Linked DNA regions of Homo sapiens: region 1 is linked to region 2. Evidence: promoter capture Hi-C in human tissues and cell types (Jung and others, 2019). All regions are on one chromosome and are shown on one strand. Each heading gives the region's core, a stretch centred on a gene start or on the middle of the fragment in contact. The rest is flanking DNA. Distances are from core to core; before and after follow the strand shown.

What was found. Contacts are between HindIII fragments. The study calls those that stand out against the background at their distance.
Region 1: the fragment with the promoter of ATL3 here is called in contact with a fragment that was not itself captured in region 2 in 2 of the 25 tissues and cell types used here (bladder and pancreas).

Annotation. Positions count from the first base shown.
Region 1 is chr11:63,670,004-63,672,703 of GRCh38, forward strand. It overlaps ATL3 (atlastin GTPase 3), which reads right to left and starts at 1,373. Exons shown (of 13, transcript NM_015459.5): 1 at 1,287-1,373. The coding sequence starts at 1,332. RefSeq lists enhancers at 738-1,239, 1,240-1,739, 1,780-1,889 and silencers at 900-1,159, 1,190-1,249, 1,570-1,689. The HindIII fragment of the contact is 6,643 bases long and covers 1-2,700 here.
Region 2 is chr11:63,594,123-63,596,822 of GRCh38, forward strand. The region is part of intron 3 of PLAAT3 (phospholipase A and acyltransferase 3); the gene reads right to left. Among named protein-coding and RNA genes, the nearest start is that of PLAAT3, 19 kb to the right of the region's middle. The HindIII fragment of the contact is 6,558 bases long and covers 1-2,700 here.

The sequences.
Region 1 (2,700 bases), core at 123-2,622, 76 kb after region 2:
GATGAGGCAGAAGAATTGCTTGAACCCAGGAAGCGGAGGTTGCAATCAGCCGAGATCGCGCCATTGCACTCCAGCCTGGGTGACCAGAGCAAAACTCCGTCTCAAAAAATAATAATAAAACAATGTGCTGGACTACTGCAATACTGAGATCCTTCTCAGCCAAGTGTTTACAGGTGTTAGAGCGGCAACAGGAATTTCTGGAGTACAAGCTAATCTCTGTGGGAATGGAAAAAAAAAAGCACTAATTTGAATTTCAGTACCTATGTTGCAATGCTAAATTCTTGACAGGGATTAGTACTCCGTAGGTTATGCTTCTTAAATCTCCAAAAGTAAGCCAATATGTGAAATCGTACATTTTTGGTCCGTTATTCTAAGACTGACAAAACGTTCCATTGCTTCGTATTTGAATTTGAGAACTGAGACTCATTTAAAAATTCTTCACTGTTCTTTTCCTTTTTGCTCTTCGATTTCGCAAGTGAAACGGTCATTTCAACAGCACACACATTACACTAGAATAAAGCCAAGTAAAATGACAGACTAAATCAGATCCGTGAATACACGGTGACTCCTTATTTGGTTTTTAATACTTTCACTATGTTTCATGTCTTCGGGAAAGCAAAAGAACAACGTACTGTGCCAAAAGCACTAACTTACGAAAAACCAATTTAGACCAATTCTTTACAGCGTTAAGTATGGGTTGAAAACCAACTTTCCTAATACTTGTGGTCAGTGCCTCAAGGTCGTTAGGATAAAAATAAAGCTTCCAAGACACTTCGCAGCCTTCCAGCACTTCCAGAAAGGCCAAATAAACCAGCATTCACCTTCCCGCTCCATCCAGGCCCCGATTCTCCGACCAGAGAGGGCGCTGAGTGCCCGGGCACGGAGGGGCAGCGCCCTGGGGCGCCCGGCTCTGCCCAGGGCGGGGCTCGGCGGGGCCGAAGCTCCGGACGCCGCCCACGGGGACCACCGGCCCTTGGGCCGCCCAGGGGCAGCTGCAGCCCAGGGGAGGAGCTGGAGGAGCCCCCGGCGGCACCAGGGCCCGAGCCCTGACGGCGGCCGCCCCCGGCCGAAAAGTAAGGAAGGTGCCGCCCTCGCTGGACCAGCTGGGCCCGAAGAGGGGCCCCCCCACCACAAATTCGGAAACCGAGTGACCCCGGCGAGGGACGCGCGGTCCCAGCCCCGGGACGAGGAAGGGCGGCGGCGCGGGCGGGGGTTCTTTTCAGAACTACAGCAGGGAAGGCGGCGGGGGTGGCCGCGGGGCGATCCAGGGAAAATCGGCGCCTCACCTGCTCCTCTTGAGGCAGCTGCTGCCACTCGCTGAGGGGACAACATGGAGCCTCCGCCTTCAAAGCAGAAGCAGCAGGGGTGCAGAGGAGAGGGACGGGTGCGGGCGGGAACGAACCGGGCCCTGGAAGCGGGAAACGGGCGGAGCCTGGGCTCTAGAAAAAACTAGCCAGAAGGTGGGGCACGCGGAGCCGCGACGGAGCGAGCGCAGCGCGGTCTGCGTGGCCCAACGGACAGCCCGAGGCGTGGCGAGCGCAGGACGAGGCTAGGCGAGGCGGGGCGGGAAAGCGCACGCGGCAGAATCCCGCCACCGCCTGCCGCGTGTGCGCGAAGCGAGCCGCCGGGTACCTGTTGGCGGGGCGCTGAGTGCTACCGTCCTTTGGGAATTGTAGTCCCGCGCTCACTGGGTCCCGGCCAGCGGTCCTCATACTGCGCACTCATCTGGGGCGGGGCTTGGCGTGGTTCTCCGACGACTGAACTACAACTCCCAGCAGGCTGTGCGGGAAGGGGCGGGCTGGCTCGGGTCCTCCTGCGAGCTGCGGCCGGCGCCTAACGTGCAGACCAGGCCCCAGGCCGAGGCTTTATCCTGGAACCACCAGTGTGAGAGACAGCTTTGGTGTTTAACTAGGCCTGGGACCACAGGTGGGCAGAAGAGAGGCCTCAACCCTGGATGGCATGAACGTCACTGGGTCTTTAATGATTTTGACTTCATAAGGGCAGGTGGCCGTGACTTCATTACCACCTTTATTATCATCTCCCTATATTCCTGTCCCTGGCCATGGCTGATGCGCACCATCACCGCTCTGATAGCTAATGTAAGAAGTCCAGGCCGGGCGCCGTGCCTCACGCCTGTAATCCCAGCACTTTGGGAGGCCGAGGCGGGTGGATCACCTGAGGTCGTGGGCGTTCGAGACCAGCCTGACCAACATGGAGAATCCCCGTCTCTACTAAAAATACGAAATTAGCCAGGCGTAGTGGCGCACGCTTGTAATCCCAGCTAGTCCAGAGGCTGAACAGGAGAATCGCTTGAACCCAGGAGGCGGAGGTTGCAGTGAGCCGAGATCGCACCATTGCACACCAGCGTAGGCAACAGGAGCAAAACTCCATCAAAAAAAAAAAAAAAAAACTTGCACGCACATCCCAGCATTCTCTGCTCCTTTTCCCTGCATTACTTTTCTCCAAAAGACTTCATACCACTTGGCCAGGCGCGGTGGCTCACGCCTGTAATCCCAGCACTTTGGGAGGCTGAGGTGGTTGGATCACCTGAGGTCGGGAGTTCAAGACCAGCCAGGCTAACATGGTGAAACCCCATCTCTTCTAAAAATACAAAAAATTAACCAGGCGTGGTGGCAGGCGCCTGTAATCCCAGCTACTCGGGAGGCTGAGGCAGGAGAGGTTGCATTGAGTGGAGATGGC
Region 2 (2,700 bases), core at 197-2,696:
TCCTAGGCTTTAGGCCTGAGCAGCTGAATGGTGTCTTCCACTGGAGCCTCCCATTTGGGGCAGATCAAGTTCAAGATGCCAGGTAGACACCCAAGTGGAGTTACCAAGTAGTCAAGAGGTTATGCAAGTCTGAAGCTGAAGGGGGATGTAAATTGAGGGTTTGGGCTTAGGAGATATTGACAAATAGAAGGTATTGGAAGCTAAGGAATCCAATGAGGTCATCTGAGCTCGATTTAGGGAAATGAGAGAGGAGGAGGAGCCCACACAAGAGACCAAAAAAGAAGGGCCCAGAGGGAGAGGAAGAAAGTCAGGTGCCAGGTGGAGAGCAGGAAGGTCACTCACATCAAATGCTGCAGAGAAGCCAAGTCAGCTGTGATGGGACTTGGCTTTAAGCTTTGGCAAGATGTGGAAGCTTTTCCCTACCCTTGAGAACTGCTCTGTCAGGGGGGCAAAAAAAGAGAGTCTGAGAGCAAAACTCCATCTCAAAAAAAAGAAAAAAAGAAAAAGAAAAAAGAAAGTGTGGGTATAGGGGATGGAAGGCAGAATGGGAAGCGAGGAACCGGAGGTGGCCAGGCAGACAAAGCTGTAATGAGATCTGCTCTGTAGGGCGTTAAGCAGAGAAGGATGTGAGGCCGGGCGTTTGATCAACGGGATATATTACAGCTGTCTCTATGTCAATACGAATGATCCAGTTGAAAGGGAGAAGATGACAATACAGAAGGAGGTGGGGAATTTGAGGAGCAAAGTGCTTATGAAAGGAAGAGGAGGGGGTGGGGGTACATGGGTAAGGGGCTCAGGGTGGGGAAGATGACATCTACTCTGGTTACTACTGATAGGGTGAGGCCACTAGTTAGAATTAAAACGATATGCAAAAGACATGTTCAAGGGCCGTGCGCGGTGGCTCACGCCTGTAATCTCAGCACTTTGGGAGGCCGAGGCAGGCAGATCACTTGAGGTCAGGGGTTTGAGACCAGCCTGGCCAACATGGTGAAATCCCATCTCTACTAAAAATACAAAAATTAGCTGGGCATGGTGGTGCGTGCCTGTAATCCCAGCTACTCCAGAGGCTGAGGCAGGAGACTCGCTTAAAAGCAGGAGGTGGAGGTTGCAGTGAGCCAAGATCATGCCCCTGCACTCCAGCCTGGGCCACAGAGCAAGACTCCGTCTCGGAAAAAAAAAAAAAAAAAAAAGAGTGTCTATAACAGCTCTATTCATAGCAGTCAAAACCTGCAATGAGTCTGATGTCAGAAAAATGGATGCTAAATTGTAGCATATTCATATAACAGAAAATACACAGCAGTGAAAAAGAATTCCTGCTACTCACAGCAGCATGGATGACTCACATGGGCATGATGTTGGCTAAAAGAAGCCAGACACAAAAGAGCACGGGCCGTGTGATACCTCTTCCATGAAGTTCTAGAACAGGCAAAACTCATCTATGGCAGGAAAAGCTAGAATGATGGTTGCCTGGGCGAGGCGTGGGGAGGCATATTGTAGAAGCATGAGAGAGCCTTTCAGGGTAAGTGGCACAGTGGGAATGTTCTAGATGTGGATCTGGGGCACTGTTACATGGATGGTTTTTTTTAATTCACTGACTGTATACTTTACTATGCTTGTACATTTTACAATACTTATGTTATACCCCAGTTTAAGTTAAAGGCTTAAGAGAAGGGTGAGGAATTCTCACAAGAGTTCTCCAAGTTAAGTATTCATATCCTCAGTTTGCAAAAAAGGAAATCAAGGCTGAAGAATGGAAACTGGATTCATAACCAAGTCTCTCTGCCCAAACACCTGCACTCTTCCCAGGAGCTTTACGCTTAAGAGTTGAGTGTGTTGCGGCCGGGCACAGTGGCTCACGCCTGTAATCCCAGCACTGTGGGAGGCCAAGGAAGGCGGATCACGAGGTCAGGAGATCGAGACCATCCTGGCTAACACAGTGAAACCCCGTCTCTACTAAAAATACAAAAAATTAGCCAGGGGTGGTGCCAGGTGCCTGTAGTCCCAGCTACTCAGGAGCCTGAGGCAGGAGAACGGCGTGAACCCGGAGGCAGAGCTTGCAGTGAGCCGAGATCGCGCCACTACACTCCAGCCTGGGCGACAGAGCGAGACTCTGTCAAAAAAAAAAAAAAAAAAAAAAAAAAAGAGTTGAGTGTGTTGCATACAAAGTCACGGCATAAAAAACACATCAAAACAGAGCTTCGTCCTCAGATGCCACCTTGGTCCCTCTACAGCAGCGGTCCCCAACCTTTTTAGCACCAGGGACTGGTTTTGTGGAAGACAATTTTTCCATGGACTCGGCAGTGGGGAGGGATGGTTTCGGGATGATTCAAGCACATGACATTTATTGTGTACTTTATTTCTATTATTATTACATTGTAATATATAATGAAATAATCATACAACTGACGATAATGCAGAATCAGTAGGAGCCCTGAGCTTGTTTTCCTGCAACTAGATGGTCCCTTCTGGGGTGACGGGTGACAGTGACAGATCATCAGGCATTAGATTCTCATAAGGAGTGATATGGTTTGGCTCTGTATCCCCACCCAAATCTCATGTCAAACTGTAATCCCCATGTGTCAGGGGAGGGACTATATGGGAGGTGACTGAATCATGAGCGAGATTTCCCTCATGCTGTTCTCATGATAATGAGTGAGTTCTCACAAGATCTGATGGTTTAGAAGTGTGGCACTCCGGACA